Linked DNA regions of Homo sapiens: regions 1, 3 and 4 are each linked to region 2. The links are contacts of gene promoters, found by promoter capture Hi-C in human tissues and cell types (Jung and others, 2019). All regions are on one chromosome and are shown on one strand. Each heading gives the region's core, a stretch centred on a gene start or on the middle of the fragment in contact. The rest is flanking DNA. Distances are from core to core; before and after follow the strand shown.

The links. The method cuts DNA at HindIII sites, captures the fragments that hold promoters and counts their contacts. A contact is called where the count stands out against the background at its distance.
Region 1: a contact is called between a fragment that was not itself captured here and the fragment with the promoter of C9orf50 in region 2, in 1 of the 25 tissues and cell types used here (dorsolateral prefrontal cortex).
Region 3: a contact is called between a fragment that was not itself captured here and the fragment with the promoter of C9orf50 in region 2, in 1 of the 25 tissues and cell types used here (dorsolateral prefrontal cortex).
Region 4: a fragment that was not itself captured here is called in contact with the fragment with the promoter of C9orf50 in region 2 in 1 of the 25 tissues and cell types used here (lymphoblastoid cells).

What each region holds. Positions count from the first base shown.
Region 1 is chr9:129,282,027-129,284,726 of GRCh38, reverse strand. It overlaps LINC02975 (long intergenic non-protein coding RNA 2975), which reads right to left and starts at 2,311. Exons shown (of 3, transcript NR_121587.1): 1 at 2,035-2,311; 2 at 1,669-1,797. RefSeq lists an enhancer at 1-21. The HindIII fragment of the contact is 7,354 bases long and covers 1-2,700 here.
Region 2 is chr9:129,619,697-129,622,396 of GRCh38, reverse strand. C9orf50 (chromosome 9 open reading frame 50) reads left to right here and starts at 1,296. Exons shown (of 7, transcript NM_199350.4): 1 at 1,296-2,330; 2 at 2,567-2,657. The coding sequence starts at 1,823. It also overlaps a transcript of NTMT1 not described here. RefSeq lists an enhancer at 1,184-1,834. The HindIII fragment of the contact is 8,954 bases long and covers 1-2,700 here.
Region 3 is chr9:129,161,521-129,164,220 of GRCh38, reverse strand. No RefSeq gene overlaps it. Among named protein-coding and RNA genes, the nearest start is that of IER5L, 15 kb to the left of the region's middle. The HindIII fragment of the contact is 3,183 bases long and covers 1-2,700 here.
Region 4 is chr9:129,260,830-129,263,529 of GRCh38, reverse strand. No RefSeq gene overlaps it. Among named protein-coding and RNA genes, the nearest start is that of LINC02975, 20 kb to the left of the region's middle. The HindIII fragment of the contact is 3,830 bases long and covers 1-2,700 here.

The DNA.
Region 1 (2,700 bases), core at 122-2,621, 340 kb after region 2:
TGCCCAGAGCCTCTCTAGGTCCACCCAGGGGTGCTGGGCCCATGGGAGCAAAGGCTGAGTACTGCGGCCTCCCACCACCCCCCTGCCCCACCTCCACCCTGAAGTGTCCTGTTTAGCGGAATATCAGGTGTCATTGTGTGCCCTGGGGTGCTGACGGGGAGGGGATCACCTGGCCACAGGAGACCCCTGAAGCCTGGGGGAGGGGTCTGCTTCAGCTCCAGTGAGGGCGGGATTCCTGGGGTGAACTCGTGACCTTAAGCATGACCTTGAGCATGACCTTAAGCATGACCTTGAGCGTGACTTTGAGTTGTTGCTCCTTTCAACGCCACACGCACGCCTGATTCCTGGGCCCTTTTCTCTCCCCCAGTCCCTTCCTGCCACACACACTCCTATTTCTCCACATCTTTCCCCTCTAAATGACGGGGTAACCAGAAGTGACACCACAGCCGCTGGACCCCTCACGGCGCGAACATGAAACTGGGCAGGTCTGGGTTTGGCCACCCGTTCCCTGACTTGCTGGCTGTGTGGCCTTATGCAGGTCACTTGCCCTCTCTGAGCCTCAGCTTTCTCGCCTGTAAAGTGAGGGGCACGTGAGCTCCCGCCTTGCAGGGCTGTGTGTGTTGCGGGTGGTCTTGGAAGCCGCACTCAGTGTGGACAGGCAGCAGTGCTCCCATGCAGGTGCCACGTCAATATCATCACGTGGTTCCTGTTTAGGTCCTGCTCATTCCTCCAAGGGCCGAGGCAGCTCCGGGGGAATGGGGAGGGCGTGGCCTCTGCCCTGGTCCTAGCCGGGTCTGCGGCTGCTGGTGTCCACCTGTGGTTCTCAAAGGGTGGTCCTCCTGGCCAGCAGCATTGGCCTTGCCCAGGAACTTGTCAGAAATTCAGATTCTCTGGCCTGGCCAGTCCTGGGAATCAGAACCCCTGGGATGCAACCAGCCACCTGTGCTTTCACGAGGCCCCAGGGGCCTCTCGCAGGCACTGGTGTGAACCAGGAGATCCTGGAGGGTGGCGGCCCATCTTGTGCCCCCTACCCTCACTCCCATCACAGGGTCTGGTCCTCCCATTTCTCCAGTCACTCTGCACTAAACGCTGGACAATGGCCCCTAAGTACAGGCCCTCGTCTGCTAGTTAACAACTGGGGGGCCCAGGTTCTCCAAATGTGGTCCCCAGAGTACCCACACCAGACCACGAGGGAGCCTGACAAAATGCAAGCCCCTGAGTGCCCCCTAGACCGGCTGGGCATGGCTCCCCAAGAATTTGCTCTGGGGACACCCACAAGTCCCAGAACAGGGGGAGGAAAATGAAGGGCACAGGAAAAGCCGGGCCCTGGGGAGGAGATGGAGGAAAAGGGAAGTCAGACAAGATTCCCCAGTGCCAGTGACGGGCACCACTGCCTCCCCAGAGCCACCACAAGCCAGCCGCCCCTTGGCAGCAGGGGTCTGGGAGCCCTTGGCAGTTCAACCCTGTACGGACACCGTTTGAGGGGCTAGAAATAAGCCAGGATGAAATGTTATGAAATAATAATAATAGTCCCTTCTCTGGCCCACTGCAGAACCCTAGAAAGTAAGGGACTGGGGCCAACGGCAGCTGCAGTCAAGGTGCCTGCAGCTATGTGACCCCAGGGCCTAGCCCGCCCCTGCCTCCCGCCCTTCACTTAATTCCAAATACCTTTTCTCTTGTCAGCCGCAAGTCAGTGGGCTTCAAAGTCAGGCGGTGGCTCCCGTGACCCTTTGTGGGGAGGGCAGGGGTGGGCCCAGCTTCTGTGTGTTCTGCTCAGTGGGCCAGGAGGCCCCAGGCCTGCAACGAGAGGGAGGGAGGGAGCTCGGCCTGCCGGTCATTGCTCCGCACCTAGGCCCTTGCAGCTTGGAACGGACCAGCAGCCGGGAACAGCTGGTCCGATCCCACCGCCCTGCTAGGGAGGCTGCCCAAGGTACCCGGAGAGCCTTGGACTGGGGAGCTCAGGGCTGGATGAGCCAGAGCTCCAGGAGAGGAAGGCTGCGCTCACCTGAACTAAAAGTCGTGTTACAATCATACCTGCAGGTGTCAACCTCACTTTCGTTGCAGAGAGGAGGGTCTGGAATCACATGCTCCTCCAGGCAGCATTTTACAGAAAGCTGCCCTGACAGCCACGACGTACTCCCCCACTTCTACCTCTATCTCGGATTCTGTTGCAGAATGTGGCGAGGTATCACAGGGCTGCCAGCCACGGACAGGTTTGAGGGGACCGGAGTAGGGGGTTGCAGGGACGAGCTGGCAGGATCCAAATCCCTCCCGTCAGATGTGTCTCCACCCACAGCTTCCTTTTCCATTGGAGCAAACATAACAAAACAAGTGTCAACTACACTTCCTGATTCCTGAGTTACGAAAAGCCAGTGCCACCCACAGGTCCGTCCACCCCCTCCTCTTGACCCGGCCCTTCCAGTGGCACCTTATTCTGTTATTTGCTCTCTATTTTTCTTTAAAAGCATTCACTGCTATTACTTAGGTAAATGCATCCATAAGGGAACTTTATGTGACTACTGTTAGGTGGAAAAAAAACTAAGATCATGGGCCATAAATAGAAGGTAAAAGTAAAAATAAATTACAATTAAAATAAGCAATGTTAGGAAATTCTAGCTGGCTATTGTTGCCTGCCGATGGCATTTTGATAGAAAAGCGTTGGGGAGTTGCAAGCTTCCCCTCCAGGGGACCAGAGGGCTG
Region 2 (2,700 bases), core at 47-2,546:
CTCAGCCTCCCAAGTAGCTGGGATTATAGGTGCACAACACCATGCATGGCAAATTTTGGTATTTTTTGTAGAGACGAGGTTTCACCATGTTGGCCAGGCTGGTATTGAACTTCTGACCTCAGGTGATCCGCCCGCCTCGGCCTCCCAAAGTGCTGGGATTACAGGCGTGAGACACCGTGCCCCGCAGGGTCTGTTCATTTCTAGGTCCATTGTATTCTGACTGCCTGGTCTTGGGGTGGAAGTTCTACTTCCAGAGCCACCCAGCCTAAGCCTCCCAGATCTGGAAAGGGTAGGCCTGGCTGCCCTGGTCAGAGTCCCAGTGCCCCAGGTGGCTGCGGCCAGGGCATCCAGGGCACAATAGCCCCACCCTTAGTCCCCAGGCCTCAGTGCCCACTGCTACTCAGATGCCCAGGGGTGAGGGGCGGATCACAATGACCCTGAAGCGGCCCAGAGGCAGCCGGGAGGGGCTGGGAGAGGCACCAGGCAGGGATGATGGGCTCTACAGCCTGCCTGTAGAGAGCTCTAAACTCACAGGACCTTCTAGGGCCCCACCCAGAAGCCCACCAGGGTGAGTGTGACACTGCCCAGGAGTCAGCTCAGAGCTGACAACAATCTGGGAGTGGGGTGTGGTTGGGAGGAAGCAGGCTTAGAAACCCCTCAGTGTCAGAGCTGGGAGTAAGACTGGGGCTCTGCCTCCCAAAGGGGGAGTTTGTTAAAAGTCTGTGTCTTGGCCAGAAGTGGGGACTCACGCCTGTGATCCCAGCACTTTGGGAGGCCAAGGCAAGTGGATCACTTGAGCCCAGGAGTTCAAGACCAGCCCGTGCAACATAAATACAAAAAAATTCTACCCCATTTCTACAAAATATACAAAAATTAGCCAACTGTGGTGGTGTGTGCCTGTAGTCCCAGCTACTCAGGAGGCTGAGGCAGGAGGATCACTTGAGCCCAAGAATTTGAGGCTGCAGTGAGCTATGATGGTGCCATTGCACTCCAGCCTGGGTGACAGCAGGACCCCGTCTTAGCAAGACCCCATCTCTTTAACAACAACAACAAGAACAACAAACTGTCTTGGCTCCAGCAGAGACGTACTGAATCAGAATGGGGGCTGGGGGTAAGTCATCTGTATTTTCAACAGGCTCCCCACCCAGGGGTCTCTGAGGCAGCACCAGGGCTGGGAGGCTGCTGGTCAGGTCTCTCTTCCCTCAAGCTGGTTCCAGGTTTCCTAATTCCCAGTAGAGCGCTAATGACGGTAACAGTTCCACGCTTTGAACACTGCAAGGCAGGCTAAGTGCTCTCTCTACCAGCGGTGATGCGGTGATGCCGTTTCACGGCTGCAGAGAGGCAGGTGCTGCTATTATCCCCATTCTGCAGACCAGAGCCCCCAGGGAAGGCAGAGGGAAGTTAATTGGCTTGGCCAAGGTTACAAAGCTAATAAGTGGTGGAGCTGGGACTAAATCCTAAATAATAATAACTTTGAAATACTAAGAATGGCAGCTAGTCTATGTGTAAGCTTGGCCAGCGTGCCTGGCACTGTACCGAGCTTGCTGTTCTAAGACTGGCATGTACTTGCTCATTTAAACGTCACAGCAACCCCCAAAGTTGGCTACTCTTGCTGTCACCATTTTTCAGGTGAGGAAACAGAGGCTCTGGGAGCTCTCGCCTGAAGCCACTCGCTGTCCGCCGGGCCGGTGGCGTTCACCCCGCACCGCGCTGCCCCGCCCGGGGCACTATGGCCTGGGGCTGGACTATGCCCTCCCCACCTCAGCCGGCGCCCCCCACCCACGCGCGCTGAGGGTGCGGTGAGCTGAGTGCGGGGCCAAGCATGTTCTGGCGTCGACTTCGCCCAGGGGCCCAGGACCTGGCGCCCAAGGGGCTCCCTGGCGACGGAGACTTCCGACGCAGCAGCGACCCGCGGCTGCCCAAGCTGACCCCGCCCGCGCTCCGAGCGGCTCTGGGCGCGCGGGGCTCCGGGGACTGGAGGATCCCGGGGGGCGGCGCCGCGTGGTGGCCGGAAGGGGACGCCAAGCCCGGGGTGGGCGTCGGACGCCTCCCGCCGCGCCTGCCCGCCTTGCTCACCGCGACCCGGCGGGCCGTGCGGAAGCGGGGGCTGCTGCGGTCCCTGCTGCCGCCTCCCCTGCTGTCGGCCGGCGCGTCCCGGGAATCGGCGCCCAGGCAGCCAGGGCCTGGAGAGCGCGAGCGCCCCCGGAGGCGCGTGGCCAGGGAGGACCCCGACTTCTTGGGCGCCTTCCTAGGAGAGCTCCTCCCCAGCAGGTTCCGTGAGTTCCTGCACCAGCTCCAGGAGAAGTGCGCCGAGGAGCCGGAGCCACTGAGTGAGGCCCCGCGGGGCCCGGGGGGCGGGCCCGAGTCATTTCCGGTGGGGGGTGGTCCCTTGTGTCCCCGCACCCACCACCCCACCACCCAGGCTAGAAGGATGCTAATGTTAGCTGAGTATCTCAGAGCCCTCGCAACCCGTCCTTGAGGGCTGGTCTGCCATCACCCCGAGGCCACATGACTAGAAAGGACCGTCCCCCAGCCAAGGCTCACAACTGTTTCCTCCTGGCTCCAGCATCCCCAGCACCGCAACATCAAAGGGGTGTATTAGAGCACTGCCCAGGGTCTCCGCGGTGTCCCAACTGTTCATTCCTCCCAGACCTGTGGTAAGCGTCAGTCCGCTTCTTGGTGGGGACGGGGTTGCCATCG
Region 3 (2,700 bases), core at 146-2,645, 460 kb after region 2:
ATGCTCTGCTGTCTTGAAATTCAACATCATTTTATCGTTGAGTTTGTGTTGAGTGAAGTCTGAGACAGTGGAGCGTGTTTGAAGCTTCGACTCAGGTGCAGTCCTGTCTCCTGCCACCTCCCCACCTCCCTGAGACAGGTTCTTGGTCCCCCTGCTACCCTGCCCCCTGGCACTCTGGTGCCCTGGCTCTGCCTGGCCTCTCCCTCCCATCCTCGGCAGGGACCTGGGCACAGGCGTAGAGAGGGTTGAGTTCAGGCATCCGTGAGCAGCACCTTGCAGGGCACGGTGACAGCCGCCACTGCTGTGCATTAGCAGCACCACAGCCTGACTGGCAGCCAACCAGAGACCGTGTCTAGACGTGGGGTGAACCTTTCACCTACCCCGATCTGGGTACTGAGGTCCTTAGAGACCACTCCTCTGCTGTAGGTTGAGGTGGGGGCCTGTGGGAAGGGGAGGTACCAGGACTCAGGACATCAGCCCAGTGGTTGGTTGGAAGGTTAATCCAGCAGCTGCCAGGCCCCATCTAGAGAGAGCACGCAGGGAGGCATAGCAGGGGTGGAGGGGGCTGGGAGGGTGTGCACCCTTGTGGCAATCTCCCATACGGAGAAGCACTATCTTAACCACCTTAACCAGGGGGTCTTCTCCTCCCCCTATAACCTTCCTGAGCCTGGCTTGTGTTTGTCTTTTCTGGCCAGTTCAAGGCACACTCAGGGACAAGCCACAGAATATGAATTGTGCAATTTCAGCGATTCTGCACATGAATTAAATGCTCTGGTATTTATATTTATAACTGGTATTACACAGCCAGGCAGAGTGGCTCATGCCTGTAATCCCAGCACTTTGGGAGGTGGGCAGATCACTTGAGGTCAGAAGTTCAATACCAGCCTGGCCAACGTGGTGAAACCCTGTCTCTACTCAAAATACAAAAATTAGCCAGGTGTGGTGGCACACACTTGTAATCCCAGCTACTCAGGAGGCTGAGGCACGAGAATTGCTTGAACTTGGGAGGCAGAGGTTGCAGCGAGCCGAGATTGGCCACTGCACCCCAGCCTGAGTGACAGGGAGAGAGGCTCCATCTTAAAATAAATAAATAAATAAATATAAATAAAACTGGTATTACGCAATATAAAGATGAATGGTAAAATTCATGCTAATTATTTACAATAATTACACCTTTCTAAGTACACCTTTCTGTACTTAGAATGACATTGAATAGAAAATTTAAAATGCCATGACAAGTTGAGAGATGGTGGAAGGAAGCGTTCTATGGACCCTTCGTGGCACTTTTTCCTGCTTTTTGAGCAAGGGGCCCTGCATTTTCATGTTGTATCGCACCCCACAGATCCTGTACCTGGCCTTGCCACTGGCATCCCCAGGATGGCATCTTCCCAGCTTAGCAGCCCTGGCACAGGGCATCTTCCCACCTGATCTAACAGAGGGCATTGGGGATGATCCTCATTGGCACAGCCAGGTCACAAGCTCATCCCAGAACCAATCACAGTGCACAGGAAAGCAGGGCCCCTGTGATTGGCCAGGTCTGGGCATGTGTCCACCCCTGAGTAGGGGGCTGACCGGCCCCACCTCAACCCTTTCTCGTGGCTTCTCCATTGGGAAGAAGGTTCTGTTGCCAGAGGAGAGGGCGCTGCACAGCCACAGGCCGCCACTGTGCGTCTTGTACACACACCTCTCGTGCTTGGTGTGAAAAAATAAAAAATGTAGATACCAGCTGGAGGAGAGACGCAATGTAGTTCCTCTCTTCCGGCTCATAGTTCCCAGTCTCCCTTCCTCTAAATGCCGGCGAGTCCCAGGGCTCAGGCCTTGGCCCCTTCTCCCTTCCTGCCACCTTCTCCTGGTCCCTTCAACCCACTGACAATTCTCTCCAGCCAGGACCTCCGTGCCGAATGCAAGTCAAGGGTCCCACCATGTTTGGCCTCTACTCTTGGGATACTGACATCTAAGAACTCGTCTGTCTGGGCCTTTCAAACCCCGGAGAGACACCTACAACCTCTGCTTCTCCCCGCCATTGCCCCGTCCCACCATCCAGCAAGTTGTTCAGGCCAAAAACCAGGGCATCGTGACTCCTTTTTTGTTCACAAAGCCAAATCCAGTCCATCAGCAAATCCTCCTTCAGAAGAGATTCACAATCAGGCCAGACACGGCGGCTCACGCCTGTAATTCCAGCACTTCGGGAGGCCAAGACAGGAGGATCACCTGAGGTCAGGAGTTCATGACCAGCCTGGCCAACATGGTGAAACCCCCATCACTACTAATAAATACAAAAATTAGCCAGGCGTGGTTGCGCATGTCTGTAATCTCAGCTCCTCGGGAGGCTGAGGCAGGAGAATCACTTGAATCCAGGAGGCAGAGGCTGCAGTGAGCCGAGATCGCGCCATTGCACTCCAGCCTGGTGACAGACACTCCGTCTCAAAAAAAAAAAAAAAAAAAGAAGAGCTTCACAATCTACCTTAGTACCATTGCTGTTGCTCTCCCAGCCCAGCCACACCACCTCCCTCCTGGACTAGTGCACTAACCTCCCTGCAGATCTCCCTGGTCTTCCTGTGTTCGCGCTTGCCCTCCTACTGGCCGTTCTCCTCCTCTCCACTCCCGTACATGCGAACATGTTGAAGTCGAATCATAGCTCTCCCCATCTCAAACCTTCCCAGTAGTGTAAATGTTTAAAACCAGCTGGTGGGTGGAGCT
Region 4 (2,700 bases), core at 7-2,506, 360 kb after region 2:
CCAGAACCATGAGCCAATTAAACCTCTTTTCTTTATAAATTACCCAGTCTCAGGTAGTTCTTTATAGCAATGTGAGAACAGACTAATACAGCCTCCATCTGTAAAATGCAGAAGCCAACAGTCTCTGCCTCATTCTAAGATGTAAACGAAATTTGACTGTCAGTGCTCAGCACAGTGCCTCAAATGCAGTGATCACCCCTAAAACATCACCTAGTGTGAAAATTATCATCGTGGTCAAATGTCTCCAAATGCTTACCTTTCTCCATCCAGCACCTGTGGATGTCCCATTAGAGTTTCTTAATATTATGATTTATCAGTGACCACCATAGCCCAGGTCCTGTCACTAAGCCCCCGTGTGCCAGGAATTCGGTGTGCACCATCCTGGCATCTGCTGGAGCCCCCAGAGTGCTGACCTTGCCTGCCTTCCCCTGCACGTGTTCTTCCTCCAGAAGCCTATAGTTTGGAATCACCATTTTTCTCTTTTTCTTGCTCCCAGCGTCCAGGATCCTAGCTAAATGGCCCTCTAAAACTGTGGGATATCTCGGGAGCACCCCCCTGGCCCAGTCCTGTGGAGACGGTAGAAGAGACAGGCAAAAGGAAGCGTGTCTCTGAGATCCTGAAACTTACATGTAGTTGTGGGGAGGCCAGGCACAGTGGCTCACATCTTTAATCCCGGCACTTTGGGAGGCCAAGGTGGGCAGATCCCTTGTGGTCAGGAGTTTGAGACCAGCCTGGCCAACATGGTGAAACCCCATCTCTACTAAAAATATAAAAATTAGCCGGGCGTGGTGGCACATGCCTGTAATCCCAGCTACTGGGGAGGTTAAGGCAGGAGAATTGCTTGAACCCAGGAGGCGGAGGTTGCAGTGAGCCAAGATCACACCACTGCACTCCAGCCTGGGCAACAAGAGCGAAACTCCGTCTCAGAAAAAAAAAAAAAAAAAAAAAGCATGTAGTTTGCGGGGAAGGGGTGATTTGCACCTAGAGTTACCAGGCAACAATTCAAGCCAATGGCAGGAAGCTGGACAGGATTCACACCGGAGGTGCGGGAAATTCCTGCTGGCGCTTCTGTCAGAAGCCAGGTCTGGGTGTTAGGCAGCGACTCATACCCTGGGATCAAGAACTCTGTTGCCTTCACCTTCCCCTCCCTTTCCTCTTGCTTGGGGGTTGGACGCTCCTGAGAAGACAGGGTGGAGGGCAAAGGTGGAACTGGAGATGGGCCCAGACCCCTCTGCCCAGAGAGCGGGTGGTGGGAGAGAGGACATTGATTCTGGACAGGACCAGGATTACGGGAGAAACCCCAGAAAACCAGAACCAGAGAGCCCTGCTGACTCTACCCACTCTCCTAACTTTACAGAGGGCAGCCTGAGGACCAGGGAAGGCAGGGGACTTCCCCAAGGTCACAGACAAAGTCAGCCTCAGGGCTGAGACCCTGACACGGGTCTCCTGACCTTACCTCCAGCCCTCTGTCCTCTGGACAGCAAGGGAGGCATCGTGGAGAGCTCTGGGGAGAATTTTATTTTTGATGGTGGCCAAGATGCTGTGCTAGGACCTTCCGACATCTCAGCAAATCCTCCCCCTGCACGAGGGAGGACACTATTATTGTCCCCAATAGTCAGAAGAGGAAGATCAGTGATGGGAAGCAATTTGCTCAAGATTCCGCAGCCCAGAGGCCCATTTTGAGCCCAAATTCCTACCCCGTCCCTGCCGTGCTTCTTAGAACCAGAGAGAGGCCTGTCGGGTTTGCAAAGACAGCCTCGCCCCTGCCAGGCTCTGAACCTCAGTCTCGTCTACAAGGAGGACGCCACCTCTCTCCTCAAGCTTGTTTCCAGAATGAAAGGAGGAAGTGCGTGGCCTGGCCCGTGGGAGGCGCTTGGGAAACGGCAAATGTGCAGTGGGCGGCCCATCCTCAAAAGTTCGGCAAACACAAAGCACTTTTTCTTTACAATTTTTTTAGCATTTTTTTTTTATTGTGGTAAAATATCCATACCAGAAAGTTACCATTTTAGTCATTTGTACGTGTTCCGTGAACGTGGCTTTAAGCATATTCACGTTGTTGTGTAACCATCCCCACCATCCATCTCCACAACCGTCTCATCTTCCCAAACGCACACTCTGTCCCCGTGAGACACTCATTCCCGGCGGCCCTTCTTATACTTTCAAAAATGAACCTCCTGCCGCATATCCTGGCTGGGCAGGCTGGGAAGGGGAAAAAAATGACAATAGACTGGTGGAATAATGAGGACAGAGAACAGGAAGTGAGGAAAGAAGAGGCTTGGGGGGCTGGACGCGGTGGCTCACGCCTGTAATCCCAGCACTTTGGGAGGTCAAGGCGGGGGCAGACCACGAGGTCAGGAGATCGAGACCATCCTGGCTAACATAGTGAAACCCCAACTCTACTAAAAATACAAAAATTAGCCGGGTGTGGTGGCATGTGCCTGTAGTCCCAGCTACTTGGGAGGCTGAGGCAGAAGAATCGTTTGAACCTGGGAGGTGGAGGTTGCGGTGAGCTGAGATCATGCCACTGGACTCCAGCCTAGGTGACAGAGCGAGACTCTGTCTCAAAAAAAAAAAAAAAAAAAAAAAAAGAGGCTTCAGGGCAGAGCATTAAGGTGGCTGTTTCCAGAGGCCAGGCCAGCTGCAACCTCCCTGCAGGTCTCTGCCAGAGCCGCCCGTCCCCAACTCCCACCACCCCTCCAA